2 separate regions of the Homo sapiens genome follow, and region 2 is linked to region 1. The links are contacts of gene promoters, found by promoter capture Hi-C in human tissues and cell types (Jung and others, 2019). All regions are on one chromosome and are shown on one strand. Each heading gives the region's core, a stretch centred on a gene start or on the middle of the fragment in contact. The rest is flanking DNA. Distances are from core to core; before and after follow the strand shown.

The links. The method cuts DNA at HindIII sites, captures the fragments that hold promoters and counts their contacts. A contact is called where the count stands out against the background at its distance.
Region 2: a contact is called between a fragment that was not itself captured here and the fragment with the promoter of HSPA4 in region 1, in 1 of the 25 tissues and cell types used here (ovary).

Annotation. Positions count from the first base shown.
Region 1 is chr5:133,047,664-133,055,601 of GRCh38, forward strand. It overlaps HSPA4 (heat shock protein family A (Hsp70) member 4), which reads left to right and starts at 4,350. Exons shown (of 19, transcript NM_002154.4): 1 at 4,350-4,694. The coding sequence starts at 4,588. RefSeq lists enhancers at 3,637-4,599, 3,786-3,835, 3,906-3,955, 4,146-4,325, 5,564-6,526. The HindIII fragment of the contact is 13,363 bases long and covers 863-7,938 here.
Region 2 is chr5:132,755,102-132,763,039 of GRCh38, forward strand. It overlaps SEPTIN8 (septin 8), which reads right to left. Exons shown (of 10, transcript NM_001098811.2): 5 at 7,383-7,544; 6 at 6,699-6,795; 7 at 6,357-6,525; 8 at 6,032-6,164; 9 at 5,701-5,891. It also overlaps a transcript of CCNI2 not described here. Among named protein-coding and RNA genes, the nearest start is that of CCNI2, 12 kb to the left of the region's middle. The HindIII fragment of the contact is 7,294 bases long and covers 1,006-7,938 here.

The DNA.
Region 1 (7,938 bases), core at 3,100-5,599:
CTGGTGCCTGCTGGGCTTGATGGGGGGATGAACTCCCTCTGGGCTGCTGGAGTGCCCCGGCTAGATGCCACAAAGTCCCATGGTGAGTGCCATTGAGAGGTGAAGCCGGCTGCGCTTCTGGGTCTGGTGGGGACTTGGAGAACTTTTCTGTCCAGCTAAAGGACTGTAAACGCACCAATCAGAACTCTATGTCTAGCTAAAGGTTTGTAAACGCACCAATCAGCACTCTGTGTCTAGCTGGAGGTTTGTAAATGCACCAATCTGCACTCTGTGTCTAGCTAATCAGGTAGGGTACTTGGAGAACTTTTGTGTCTAGCTAAAGGATTGTAAATGCACCAATCAGCACTCTGTGTCTAGCTAAAGGTTTGTAAAGACACCAATCAGCACTCGGTCAAAACGGACCAGTCAGCTCTCTGTAAAATGGACCAATTGGCACTCTGTAAAATGGACCAATCAGCAGGATGTGGGTGGGGCCAGATAAAGGAATAAAAGCAGGCTGCGTGCCCCCCACCTTCCCCAACAACCAGCAGCGCAACCTGGTCAGGTCCCCTTCCACACTGTGAAAGTTTTGTTCTTTTGCTCTTCACAATAGATCTTGCTGCTGCTCACTCTTTGAGACTGCGCTGCCTTTAAAAGCTATAACACTCACTGCAAAGTTCTACAGCTTCACTCCCGAAGTCAGCGTAGAACACGAACCCACCAGAAGGAAGAAACTTCAGACACGTCCGAACAGCAGAAGGAACAAACTCTGGACACACCATCTTTAAGAAATGTAACACCGCGAGGGTCTGCAGCTTCATTCTTGAAGTTAGGGAGACCAAGAACCTACCAATTCTGGACACACTGGGATTACAGGCATGAGCCACTGTGCCTGGCTAAGAGATCCTCATTTTTACAAAAAAATGAAAAAATGAGTTGTATGTGGCAGCACATGCCTGTAGTCCTAGCTACTCAGGAGGCTGAGGTGGGAGGATTGTTTGAGCCCAGGCTGCAGTGAGCTATGAACGTGACACTGCACTCCAGTCTGGGTGACAGAAAGCGATCATCTAAAAGAAGAAATAGAGAAGCAGTGTAGTTGTGAGAAAATTGTGTGACCTTGAACAAGTACCTTAACCTTATCAGGTCTCTATAAAATAGGAAAAATATCACCTACCTGATGGGCTTGCTATGACGAGTAAAGGAATTATATTGGTATCAATACAGTGTCTGGCGTAATGCTAGCATATGCTGTAGGAATGCCAGAGACATGGTAATTACCATTATTATTGAGTTATTGGAGTTTTGGTGTTTAAGAAAGGGTTGTTGCTTTGACTAAAAGCATTGCTCCACTCACTGTAAGATCAGGGAAGTCAGAAAATCACCATTATCTGAGCAGGTAGTTTCCTTGTGAAGCAAAAAATTGCAGAAGCTGCTCCAGAGCGTAGGGCAGGATTCCACTGGACACTTGTCAGGGAGAAATATGAGTCCCCAGCTGATGGAGAACCTTTTGTCTTTTGTTGGGCAGCCTATGAACACTGTATATTTAAAAACAAACACTTCTGTGATTGCTTAGGACTAAATTTAATCGTTGTATTTGAGAGTGGCATTTAACAACTTCCTGCTTTTAAAATACTTAAATACCTAAGATACTCTGCCAAATGGAAAGAATTTGTTCTCCGAACACAGTGCCTCCAACATTAAATATTCTGGACACTTCGTTGGTTCGCAACTGTGATACTTGGAAACTTGCCACGTTAGATTCTTCAGGATTCTAAAATAACCTTTTCCTGACTTCATTTATTTAAATATCCCAGAATAATCTCTTAAGCTATAAGTTTGATGATCCAGGAAACTATTTATAGGAGGATGAGTACTCTCTGTGACTGATGGTAGTTATGTTTTATTTTGAGAAGGACAAATCATTAAAAAGATTGATAGGGCTGGTGGTATTTTAAACTGAAAGCAGTACCAAGGCAAACAAGGCAGTTGAGGTATGAAGTTGGAACATAATAAGATATGGGTGTAATTTTCATCAACTTAGCTAAGACCTAGGGAGGTCTTCCAATAGAAGGAAGGCAGAAACAGGCAGTAACACAGACAGTGATCTTTTAGGTCCACTGGACACTTTAGCTTAGGCAGCTCGGGTTGTTTGCTCAGTGATTAACAACTGAGATAAACAGATGGAGACAGGACTCTGTCATAATTAAGGTCAACAGTGTGCTTGGTATTATTGATATTGCCCCTAGGTAGGAGAAAAACAGAGGAAGGAAGGTCAAGGTCAACCTAACTTAAAAAAACTTTAAAAAATTGTGGTGAAATATACATAAAATTTACCATTTTCATCATTTTTAAATGTACAAATCTGTCACTGATCATGCACATTGTTATGCAACTACCACCAGCATCTATCTCCAGAACTTTCTCATCTTCCCAAACTGAAACTCTGTATCCCTTAACTCTCCATTTCACTCTACTTGTGAAACCGCTTTTCTGTCTTTATGTAGTTTATTGTAGGTGCCTGATACAAGTGGAATCATATTAAATTTTGAATATAAAATTAAAAATTAAAAAAAATTAATTTTGATTTGTTTGGCTTTCCACTTAGCGTATTTTCAAGGTTCATTCATGCTGTAGCATTTATCAGACTTTCATTCCTTTGTCTTTTCAAAGCTGTATAATGTACTGTTACGCGTATACACTAAATTTAGAAAACTCATTCATCTGTCAATGGACATGTGGATTGTTTCCTCCTTTTAGCTACCGTGAATAAACTACTATGAACATGGGTATACAATGTACAAATATGTCCCTGCTCTCGTTTTTCCAAAGGCTGTTCCTGGCTGCCTCTACTCTTTTTATTCCCAGTACCCTTTTACAGGTAGCACCTGGTACTTGTCTTTGAAGAATTAACAGGTTTTAGTTAGGCAAAATGTGAGAACAGTGTGGCCATTTGCAAGTTTTAATGGTAATCAACCCGGGTTTGGGGTTGCTCCTATAGAGTGAAGTACCTCCGGAGGTGGCAGGAAATGCAGGTATTTAAAGGGAAGGGCATACCAGGGCAATGTAATTTCTTCTTTGCTCATTCACTTTTAAAATGGCTGAAGGGCAGGTACTCTAGCCTTGAGACCTTCAACTCATGATGTACCCTCCAGCAACGGAGAATTTCTTTTTAGTCCTTAAACTATGGTCTCTATTGCTAGTTTTCCAAACTTGAACACAGCCTTTTCCTTTTCTGGGAAGTTGTCCTAGTCTCCACCATTCTGTGCATATAGCACTCGCCATTCTGTACTGGGGTCACCTTTACTTGTTTAGCCACCCTCATGATGGGGATGATCCAGGTTTTGCAGAGGTGAAACTTATATACCATTGGGGGGCCCTACAAATACACAAAACAAATAATTAAAACGACAAATCACAACACATTACTAGAGACTTGGAGATTCAGATTCTCCTTAGATCTCTCTGGGTAATTTATTAGAAATGCTTACATAGATTTGCTTCCTAATCTCAAGCTGGCTTCCCCTCTCCACAACTCAGCAACTATCTATTCTCCCAGGAGGCCATACAAGCGAGGGGCCCTGAAGCTTAACATTTATTAACTTCATGTAAAGGTCTGAGCGGACCTTTCAGGCCAGGCAGCGTGTCACTTGCCTGTGTTCCTTGTTAGGGCCTACCACCGGGTAGGTGCTTGGAATGTGCTGTGGATTAAAGGCTTAAATCCTGCGGGCCCCTCAATCTGATCTAAGGACATGAGTGGCTTAGAGAACGGCGCAACAAGGCTAAGCGAAAGAAAACAAAGCGGTGTGGCTGGGAGTGGGCTCCTTCCCTCCGCTGGTGAGGGTGCGATCTTAGACTCTTGAGAGAACCCGACATAAAGGCCGCGTTCCAATGGCGGCCTTCTCCCCTACCGGCCAACCTGCCCCGAAAAGAGCAGAAGGCACCCTGCGGGATCTGCAGATCAGCTTGCGTCTCATTCTGGGGCACCGACACGGTGGAATGCAAGACACCCCACTACCGGAAGTTTCTTTGATGTTAAGAAAAACGGCGGAAGTAGGCCGCAGCGCTTCCTCAGTATAGTGCCTCGAGCTGGCTCGCCTACTTTCTACGGTAAAGGGAGGTGCTCCACATCTCTATGCAGCTGTGCAGCGCCGCAGGTTCCATGCGCAGGCTCGGTTGGCTAAATGCGCTTTCCAGCCATCTTTCAGCCACCCAGTCCTTTCCCAGGTTCTCGAGCCAGGACGTGACGTATTCAGACGTACTGGGGGCGGGGCCTCAAGGGGAAAAGCGCCTGAGCCGGGATATCGCGAGAACATCCCGTTCTTTCGTAGCTCTGGTGCTGCGGCTCCGCTCTCGTCGCAACGAGATCTTTCGAGATCTTCTCCGCCCCCGCTACCGGCGCCTCCTCTGCGGCCACTGAGCCGGAGCCGGCCTGAGCAGCGCTCTCGGTTGCAGTACCCACTGGAAGGACTTAGGCGCTCGCGTGGACACCGCAAGCCCCTCAGTAGCCTCGGCCCAAGAGGCCTGCTTTCCACTCGCTAGCCCCGCCGGGGGTCCGTGTCCTGTCTCGGTGGCCGGACCCGGGCCCGAGCCCGAGCAGTAGCCGGCGCCATGTCGGTGGTGGGCATAGACCTGGGCTTCCAGAGCTGCTACGTCGCTGTGGCCCGCGCCGGCGGCATCGAGACTATCGCTAATGAGTATAGCGACCGCTGCACGCCGTAAGTGTGGGCCGGGCCTGCCGCGTGCACTGGGGTTAGGAGATAATGCTTGTTCCAGTCTGGGACCCTCGCTGCTTGGGGAACGCGGGCCGAGGAGTCGCCTCCGTTCCGAGCCGAGGTCCCGGTAGGTCAGGGACCCCCAGTAGGTATTAGGACACTAGGGGCCGCGGCCCACTATGAGCGTGGGTGTGTGCTAAGCGCGAGGGCCTTTTCCCCGGTGGCCCGTCGGCCGAAGAAAGGCTTCTGGCCGGTACTCGGACCAGCGGAGGGCACGGGTAGGAACTGGAAGGACTGCAGGCCTAGGATGTAAACGGATCGCGGTCCTTTTCTTGAGGGCAGAGACCAGGCCCAGGTCGTACTGAGTCTTTTGAGTCCAACAGAAAGCTCAGAACTTTGCACACAGCAGGCGCTTAATAATAGTTGAATCGAACGGGTTCTGGGGCTTGCCAGCCGCGAGACCGTGGAGCGGTCAGCGTCCCACGTGAGTGGGGGCGGGGCAGCGCCCGGAAGAGAGCGAGCTGGAGCAGCCTCAGGCACGGGTTCCGGATGGACTCGGGGTCTTGAGATTGGGTTGGCACGGATAGGAATTTAATAAAATCGGTGCTCTTATGATAACTTTGCAATCGCTTTTGTTTTCCACATTATTTCGGGATATTGTGCTATATTGGGTCACTCTCTGTTTTGTGCGCGTTAACCCCTCAATAGGGTTGCACTTTAACGATAATGCATTCTAACCAGTGTGTTGGCCACAATTGTTAGTGGCTCAAGGGCCCGCCTTGACTTCTAGAACCCATAGTAAGTTTTGGGACCAGCATAGACACAGTTCTAAAAAATGGTGGGTCACTCAGGTCTTTCACTGGTTACAGTGTCTGCCTTTTGAATACTTGTAGATACATTTTAATCCGTTGTCGTGTTCTTAGACAAAATCTTGTAAGAAGTTCTGTATTATTTGCCATTCAGGGTCTCTCTTCTTTTTTTTTTTTTTTTTTTCTTTTTTGAGACAGACAGGGTCTCACTCTGGCTGCCCAGGCTGGAGTGCAGTGGTGCGATCTTGGTTCACTGCAGCCTCGACCTCCCTGGCTCCTGGCTCAGGTGATTCTCCCACCTCAGCCTCCTGAGTAGCTGGCGTTGCAGGCGTGCGCCACCATGCTTGGCTAATTTTATTTATTTTTAGTAGAAATCGGGTTTCACTATGTCACTCAGGATGGTCTCGAACTTCTGGACTCAAGCAGTCCTCCAGCCTCGGCCTTCTGGAGTACTGGGCTTACAGGCATGAACCACCGTGCCCTGCCCAGGGGCTCACTTGTTATTGATTGATTGAGATGGAGTCTCGCTCTGTCGCCCCAGGCTGGAGTGCAGTGGCATGCTCTCGGCTCATTGCAACCTCGGCCTCTGGGGTTCATGCGATTCTCCTGCCTCAGTCTCCTGAGGAGCTGGGATTACAGGCGCGTGCTACCATGCCCGGCTAAATTTTGTATTTTTAGTAGAGACGGGGTGTTGTCGAGTTGCCCAGGCTGGTCTCGAACTCCTGACCTCAAGTGATCCTCCCGCCTCGGCCTCCCAAAGTGCTAGGATTACAGGCGTGAGTCACGGTGCCCGGCCCCAGGGGCTCAATTCTAAGGTCCATTATTTTCACCCTCAATTTTTGTCACATTTCTTCAGCAGGTTTCAGCGAAACTAGATTGTTCAGAAGTCTCACATTTCCTTTCCACTTGTCAAATTTCCGCACCCCCCACCTCCTAACCCAGGTGCTTCCCCTGAAAACTCATCCCAGAAGCCAAAACGGTAGTTTGCTGTCCCTTTGCTGAGTTTAGTCTTGTTAACAGCCCTATTAAGGTTTATTTATTTATTTATTTATTTTGAGAAAAGGAGTCTTACTCTGTTCCCTACGCTGGAGTGCAGTGGCGTAATCTCGGCTCACTGCAGCCTCCGCCTCCTGGGTTCAAGCGATTCTCCTGCGTCAGCCTCCCGAGTAGCTGGGATTACAGGTGTGCGCCACCACGCCTGGCTAATTTTTGTCTTTTTTAGTAGAGACAGGGTTTCACCATGTTGGCCAGGGTGGGCTCGAACTCTTGACCTCAAGTGATCTGCCTGCCTCGGCTTTCCAAAGTGCTGGGTTTACAGGAGTGAGCCACCGCACCTGGCACAGCTTTATTAAGGTTTAATTCATATACTATACAATTTAACCAGATGAAGTGATCGTTTTTAGTGTAGTCACAAAACAGTGCAACCATTACTGTAATCAATTTTAGAACATTTTTATCACTCCCCCAAAGCCCTGTGCCCTTTAGCAGTTTATTTTCCCTATTTGTACTTTTTAACAATGGGTAGTCTAACTTGGCATCTCCAGGGAAGTGTATTGTGCCCTGAAGTTTTTTTTTAAGCATTAAAGTTTGTTTTTAAGCATTTTAGTATTTGAGAATATCTTTGTATCCGTGTTTTCTTGGTCTATAAAATGTCTCCCCTAAGGAACTGAAAAGGCTAAAGCGCTGAGTTAATGTATTTAGTGTTTTGGTCCTTTCCTGCCCTGTGATTGAACACGCTTTAGTTCCAAAGGGCGCACAGGAAGAGAATCCCAAGTATGGGGAAGAACAGTGTTCCTATCCTTTCTTTTAGATTATTATCACATGCTCCTGTTTTTCTTTTAGAAAGACAATAGCTACAACAATTATACCATGAATTCTATTTGAAACTGAGTTGTTGCAGATAAAAAATTTGCCTCAAAGACATTGTGATATATATGACCCCATACACCACGGAATTGTGATAAGAAAATTCCATTTAAATAATTTTCCTTACATGTTTTCTTTATATTTTCCTTCATAGTTTTCATTAACTTACAGGCATGCCATACATTTCAAGTGATTTCTGAACTGTATGATTTTGATTCACTTTGATTACTCTGTTTTGGAGTCTTGGGCTAAATAGAAAATGGTAGCAGGAAGGTTGATTTTTTTTTTTTTTTTTTTTTTTTTTTTTTTGGTAGCGGTTATGGAGGAATGGATTTGGAGCTCATATGTAAAAAAGACTGCATGTTGTGGGTTTGTTTTAACATGAGAGTGGAAATGAGATGCAAGTCTTAGAGGGTTTATGATGGTGGAAGTACCTCGTTTCAGATATGGGTGTAACAATCTGGATTAGGTTTTTGAGGAGCCAGTGGAGTCTCATCCAGAAGAGACCCTTGATTTTCCACCCAATTTAGGCTTCCTTCATTTTATCAGATGTTGAGTGCCTCTGATGTGGT
Region 2 (7,938 bases), core at 3,403-5,902, 290 kb before region 1:
TACTTTGCCTCCCTGCTGCCTGCACAAGTAGAGCTGAGCTATGCCTGCATTAGGGATGTGTTCATACCACTCTCCCTGCAGGGGTCCCCATTTTCTCATTTTGGTCTTCCCAAACCTACCTAGTGCTCAATGGAGAAAGCTCCTTAAAAAACAAACCCACATACTTTTTATCACTTCTTTTCACCAGTCTGCTCTTCCTCAGCCACTTTTGCCTGTCCCCTAGGGCTTTCTACCTCTAAAAAACAGTCTCAGGTCCACCAGCCCACACCATCAGGCTGTGTACTTTAACACTAGCCACACTTTCACTACTCTTCCATCATTCCATTGAGATGCCAAGGAGCAGGTGTAGCTCAGGATTTAAGGGTACAGACTACCAGCGTTCAAATCTCAACTTCTCCAGTTACTTGCCATGTAACCTTGGGTAATTACTTAAACCTCTGTGCTTCAGCTATAAAATGGGGATGAATGGTCCCTAATCATAGGATTAGGATGAGGATTAGAGGAGTTAATGCATGTAATATGGTTCCGAGCAGTCCTGGCACTCGAATATTAGTAGTCCCGTGGCAAGCCTTTGTGTTAAGGAGGAACACTCCTCAAGGGCAGGTGCCCCTTTTCTCATGTCCTGCACCCAGTTAACCAATAAAGATTCATGGACCACAGGCTGCCCCTTTACCTTCCTGTAACTTTCCTGTGACTCTTCCCTCCATCCCCCACCTATGCAAGAGCCTTTCACAGATGTCTGTAGCAGGGTTTCCTATTAAAACAATTCCTACAGAAGTAGATCAACCTCCACAAAATTCAAAGAACAGACAAGCTGTATTTTACCACAGTTGTAGCAGATTAATGGGCTCAGGAAACGTTAAATCAGAAAAGCTACTGCCCAAAAAAGACACCACAAAAACTCAAAATAAATGCAAAATTTAATGAAAAAAATAAGTACAAAGTGAATGGAAAAGAACAAAAACAGTCAATGAATGCAGGAGTAAATGAATTAACACGTGAAGCAATTTTAGAAAAGCATGTTAACGTAACAGACTAGCAAGCCACACTTCCTCAGGCCTCGTATCCATGAGCCCCACTTAACAGGGAGCCCACATTTACACATACACAAACATATGCAGTCAGTAATGCACAATTACAAACCACCTAGATCAGGGTACCCACAACTAGAAAGAACATATTTCCACATCGGCCTGGGACAGGTCTGGTTTATGCCTTTTGATCTGGTGTAATTAATAGCATCCCCTTTCTCTCTCAATAGTCCCAATTTGGGCAACGAATTATATGGTGATTCTTCTACCTCAAACAAACATGGTTTATGATAAAGACATGATAGTAAATGCCAACATGATCCTGTAAGACAGCCCTAATAAAGCCAACAAATGACAATGAGAAAAAGAGGGGTAAATGAGACTCTGCAGACAGGGTCACATTCTATGGGGGCTAACTTACTAAACAGTGGCAAGTTTTAAGCTCACTTTATGCACCAAGGTTTAATTTGGTCTCAGCTAAAGAAGACAAAATTCCAAACACAAACAGCAGGGGAGAGGTGCAGTGAGGCTTGCTGGAGGGACCTGTGGAGGCAGCTCAGACCAGAAAACACAAGTCTGTCAAGTGTCCTGAAGATCCTGGGAAGGCTTAGGCCCGCAGGCAGCCAGCCACGAGTATGGCCTTTCAGTATGCCTGGGGTGCGACCCGCAGGCCACAATGGACGAATGGCCAAGTCTGCATACTCCAGAGTCCTAGGTTGGCCCATGAACCAGGAATTCTCATTTCTTATGTATCCAATGAACCTGCTGGGTCACCAGGCCTCATCTTCATAAATATGTTAGCTGAGAGAGGCTATCTTAAAGGTCATGCTCTGACCCAACTGCATACACTTTCAGACATAAAATTACCCTAGAGATGAGCCATTGGCAGCCCACATTTGCCCTGGATATGCCAGTTTACCTTTTTAGATACCCTCACTGAAGCATCAGTTTTCAATTGCAACCAGATACGGACTTATTGTGACGCTAAGGAAGCTTAATCTTCAGGGCCCCTTCCAAGACCCTGTACCTAATTTTATATTAACATTGTTTTTCTTAAAGAAGTCTTTCTAAATAATTCAAGCTTTCAGCCCCATAAAATTTAGATCCACCCCTGGTCATAGCATAAAAAGTTGAATTGTCACTAGAACCTGCTCTGCTGCTGGAGCATGGAGCCCCTCACAGGTAAAGGCTGCCTCTTCCTGGCCGTGCCTCGGTGGACACACACAGCTCACCCCTCCACTTCTCCCTGAGCAGAACATCATCTCAGGAAGGCAGGAGGAAGCCAGGACTTGGTCCTGGAAATCAATAATGCAAGCCAGACAGAAAGGGGGAAATGGTCATGAGAAGGAAGACAGGGGCATGAAAAGCAAACTACCAATTCCACAATAAATTAGCACGTCTTCCTGAGGCTTCCAGCCAGGGAGTAGGCTAGACTGTGAGCTCCTTGAGGGGAGCGTTGTGCATTCCTCTGGGTAGCTCCAGTGCCCAGCACGGTGCTTCAACATTAAAACTACCCTTCCTTTCATTTAGTCATTTTACATCTCCCATTTTACCAGGCCGTATTCTCAACACTGACATTCTTGGTGGCTTGTAAACCAACAGGAGCATAGAAGAGTCAAAGCTGCTAGTACTTCCTTAAAATGTTCCCCTTTAGAGTGCAGCTGAAGGGGAAAGCTCCTTTGCCGCTCATTTTTCCCTAATTGTCTATATACATCAGACACCTTCATCTCTTCACCCTGTGACCCAGCCAGGAAAGAAGCAATGACTTTGAGGTAACAACCTTTTTCCCACTGAGTACTCTTTACATTTGGAATATGCAGGATTTGCTTGGGAGTCTTAATTGGAGTCAAACACTTAACACACACACATGGAGTTGGTCCCTGTCTACAGGTAGCACCTCTGGGGCACAGACAACAGCTTTGGGCTGCTGTTCCATTTACATTCACAGTAAAAACGCTGGACATGGTCTTGTTCATGTTCCAATTCCATCCATAAAGAAATGCCAAACACTGTCATTACAGGAAGTTTATTACCCACCTCTCCCTGTATATGATAGGCATACTTTATACATAAGAAAGGTTTAGCTGTATTTTTAGTTTTTAAAAATCAGGGAATCTGTGTTACTTATGAAAATAATGGGAGAGGATATTATTTGTCTTGACGCTGGTGCCAAAATAAATATTTAGAAGTGTTTTAAAGTTATTAAAATTAAGCTGTAGGTTAGAAAAATTAAAATGAGGGGAACTGGGTGAATTTTGCAGCATGTATACCAGACCACGCAGCTGCACCTAGGGCACCACGTGAGTTGCCATCTCCACGCTGAACAATTAGGCCTAGCATCCCGGCTGGGGCCTTCGCTAGAGCGGCACATAACAGCTCCGTCAGGGAATAGTGACACTGTAAATGGAAGACCAGCCACTGGCTCTGAAAAAAATAAACCTCGTCAGTTTTGGATTCCAGCATTCATGGCTTTTACGTGTTTGCATAGAGAGGGGTGGCCCGCCAGGCCCGGGGCAGCCTGGGGCCAGGGTCGGTGGGAGGAAAGCAAGGCTGTAAACACTGGAGTCTGTACCGGCTCCCAGTCCGTCCTCACACCATGTTATGGGAGAAGGGTCACAAGGTGTAACTCAAGCAACTTAACACATGAAAGTCTAAAGTCCACTCTTGACATGTAAGTCTGTGCGTGCGTTAACTGAAAAATAAAAATAAAACAAACAAAACAAAAACAGACACATTAAAAGATATGCAGACCAAATCAAACAGAAGCAAAAGACAGCAAGATGGACACCGTGAAAGGGCAGTCAGTTTGGCATTTGTGACGAGCAAAGCAGAGAATTCACCTCAGTTTGTGGTGTCCCAGGCTAAGGGTCAAGATCTGATTGGGAAGTAATTTTGCAAAAAATTTGGATTCAAATTTAAAGAGTATGCATAACCAATCAAAACCACTCAAATAAATGGTCATGAAAAACACCCCTGCCCCCATTCCAAAAATGCACTCCCGACTCACACTAGTCCCTTGACCAGGGCGGCAGGAAGGAGTACTCCCAGTCAACCCACCTACCCCATTCCTGGCCTCCACAGAGCCGTCATGGGAAGAGCGTTTTCTCTCCCAGGGACCAAACTGACTGAAGCTTTCTAGCAGGTCCAGAGAACAGGAAAGACCTGTTTTCCAGGCCCAGGCCTGGAGAACGTATCATGGAGCCCAGGCCACATGGGAAAAGCAGGGAGACCAGACACCAGTGACAAGCCCCCACCCCGAGGGCTGTGCTGGTGTCCTTTCAGCCTGCCTGCACCCACCTTCACTGGCCCTCAGACCCTGAACTGGCCACAGACCCCTGTCTGCAGTTGCTGAGTGGTTTCTCCACAGCTTATTTCCTAGGGAATCCTGGCTACCTTTTCTTTAACAAGATGGCAGGAAGCAGGGCAAAGTCACTTTGGGTGCCAGTACCTGGGTCACAGACTCCCGCTGGCCCTAATGGCTAGGCTCCATTGCCACCAAGGAAGGAAGGGCCTGGGCATACACATCCCCAAATATCCCAGGAGGAAATGGATCCCGAGAATGACGGCCAGGTTGGGTTCACCTGCTTAGTTCCTAGGTTGGCAAGAGAAGGATGGTACCCAAGATAGGCCGGGGCAGGGAGAAGCAGGGATGGATGGGATCCCCACAGTGTGACATAGCATGGCTGTGAATGAGGTGGGTGGGCGAGGGTGAGCCCCAGAAGCCAGGACATCTGGACTCCAGCTAAGGGTGTGGAAACAGGCTATGAAGATCGCCAGGGAGAAGTGACTCATAGTTGTCCCCACCTGACTACTCCGTTGACTGCACTCCTGGTGCTGGGAAAGGCCTCCCTGCCATCCAGTCTTTCTCTCCTCTCTCCACTCTGCAGGAACAACTCCAGCCTCTACTTGAGGGGCAGCTCTTCTCCCCAAAAGAACCCACAGAGCCCCTGTGGGAAGCCGCTTTCCTCCCTTAAGCCCTGCGGGCCCTTCAGAACAGCTGTGTGGTGACCAGTCTCCAGGAGGCCAGTGTTGGCTGGCGCGAGTGCCCGCAGTTCTCCATCACCACCTGCCAGCCAATACGGGCTCCACACCACTGCCCCACAGACTGAGGAGGGATGCGCCACAGGTGTCCAAGCAGAAACCACCACGGCTTTTGGAATCTGGCTGGAGATGCTGACATTCCCAGGTCCTGTCCCGCCCCTGGCCTGAAAGACCATTCCCAGCATTCCCAGAGCCCTGCAGCTTCGCCCTCTCCACGCTGCTCCTCACCCGTGCAGCCCCACCTTCACCACGCTGCAACAGGGCCACAGCTGCCAAGGGGGCTATGGGAGAGCGAATGGGTGAGCAAGAAAGTTGGAGGAAGAGGAAGAAGGGGGAAGAGAAGGAGAGAAAAAGGGAGAAGGGAGAGGGAGGGGGAGCACAAGATTGCCTGTGCAAGTGAGACTGCATGAGTATCAGAGCAATCCAGACGGCGAGACACTGGATCACTAGTGAAAGAAAAAGGCAACCAAGAAAGCTGGGGGGAGAGCCACTGAAGATGAGGGAAAACCAAACAGGAAAGGGGTAAGAGAGGGCGAGCAGGAGAGCGAGAAGGGAGGTGAGGGACAAGAACGAAAGCAAGAGCCCACAGGAGCAAGAGGAGCCAGCGCAGGCGCAGCCTGCCACCTACTTCTTCTTGTCCTTGTCCTTCCTCAGGGGCTGCTGCGAGGTGGCGTGCAAGGCCTGCGACTGCAGGGCCTCCACCGCAGCCTTCCGGCGATTGAAGGCGTTGGTCTCCTCCTCCAGTTCCCGGCGCTTTTCCTCCACCTTGCGCTTCTCCTCCTGGTGGACCCGCTTCAGGTGCTCAAACTTCTCATGGAGCTGGCATCAGAAAGGGGGCAGAAGATGCGGGGAGCAAGAGGAGGGCTTGAGCCTGGGCCAGGAAGGCACCCCCACCTCTACCCTCAGCCAGGCCTTCCCTCCCTCAGCTTCCCCATCCCAGCCCCCAGCCTGGCACATACCTCCCTTTCCTTCTCCTTCAGCTCCAGCTCTGTCTCCTTCACTTTGTTGACAAACATCTGCCTCATCTCTTCCTCCTTCCTCTGCAGCTCACTTAGGAACTCCTTCCTCTTGGCCTCGTATGTCTCTTGTAGGCTGTGGAGACCCAGAGAAAAGAGGCCAAGGATGGGATTATGACGGAATGGGATAGGGCAGGGCAGAGCCAGAGAAGTAGAATCATGTGGGCACGAGGGGTAAGAGGATGTGGGGTCCCTCAGGGAACAGATGCCAGGGTGGTGTGTCTGGCCACAGCTGTGAAGACAGGCTCACTCTGGCTCAGGCTGTCACCTGAAGGGCTGGCTGTCACCATCGCTGTCCTGAAAGCCCATCTCCTCCAACTTGCAGCGCCGGTAGAGCTCGTAGTGCCGGCTGTGGGTCTGCTCGCGGAGGTCTTCCATGTTCACCCGGATCAACATCTCCCGCAGCTTCACGAAGTCGCAGTGATTCTCATTCTCCACTGAAAGCAGAGGGCCGGTGGGGTATCAGGCAGGCATGCAGGCGGGCACACTCCAGAGTCAGGGTAGGCACGCAGGTGGGCATGAGGAGGAAACAGCACAGGGTACTACAGGCAGCAGGGCAGGCCAGGGAACTCAGTTCTACCCCCAGGATGCATTTCCTGTCCACACTCACCCTGCACCACTCCCCAGGGGTACTGCCGTGCTCGGACCAGCTTGTTCCCCACCTTCACCTCCTCGGTGCTGCCCACCACGGCAAAGGGCAGATGTGCCTGGAAAGGGGCCCGGGTATGCGTAAGCCCTGAGCTGACACAGACTAATGGCAGACTCTCCCTCCCTGCCCCTGGGTCCTAGGGAGGGGCAGCCAGACCTGAACAAAGGCTCCAGGGCCAGATGCTTACTTCCTGGCTCTCTTCTGGAGAAATGTCCCAGAACTCCAAACAGGGGAGTGGGCTGAACCCTCAACCCCCTCCCTGGTGCTCCTGATTCTCCAGGCTGTTCTTTCAGCACTCGGGCCTCCCAGGGGCCATTAGAGCTTCCTGAAAGGACCTGTGAGCCTGGCTCCCTTCCAGGTTCCCAAACCCTTAAGCCTGCTCAACTGCTTCCATTTCCAGGCTCCTCCATGAGTCCAGATCTTATGACACCCAAACCTGGGGTCCCCAGTGTAGGCCCACTATCAGATTCTTCCTGTCCCCTGCCCACAGATGTAGGACTGGCCAGCTCCAGATGCCCACCCTTCTGTCCTGGAGAAGCTAAGGCTGGAATCCTGGGGAACAAGAGTCTCCTGGGGCTGTGTCAGATCTGTGCCGGCTCCTCGCCCTCTGGCCCCAGGGCCCTGAGGCCCTCACCCAACGCTCACATTCATGACTGCGTTAATCTCTGCAACAGCCTCATCATCCGTGGGGAACTGGTAGATCTGGACCCCGTTGCTGACCAACTCGCCCATGATCTTGATCTTGAACTTGTGGAGCTCGCTCTTGGAGATGGTGTCAGCCTTGGCGATGATGGGAATAATGTTCACCTGCCAGGATCAGGGGAGGGGACAGCAGGCTGGTTGGCTCTTTTGAGCGGTGGTTCCCATGCCATGCCCAGGATATGGATAGACATGCCCAGGCCATATCCCTGGGCAGGGGGAAGGAGGCCAGAGAGATGGAGCCACTCCCACGGGCAGCCATAGTGCAAACCCAGCCACCTGTGGCCATTCTGATGAGTTTCAACAATTGGCTGCAGTGCTTCTTACAGCCCTGGTTCCCCCAAATCACCATCCAGCCCCAAAACTGGTCCCCCTAGGCATACCCAGCTTTGACCCAGAATCCTTTGAAGGTCCTAATTGGCCTGGGGCCTAACAGAAGGAGTGGTGGGGGGGCTATGCTCCCCACTAAGCAGGTAAAAGGACCCATCAGCAGTAGCCATAA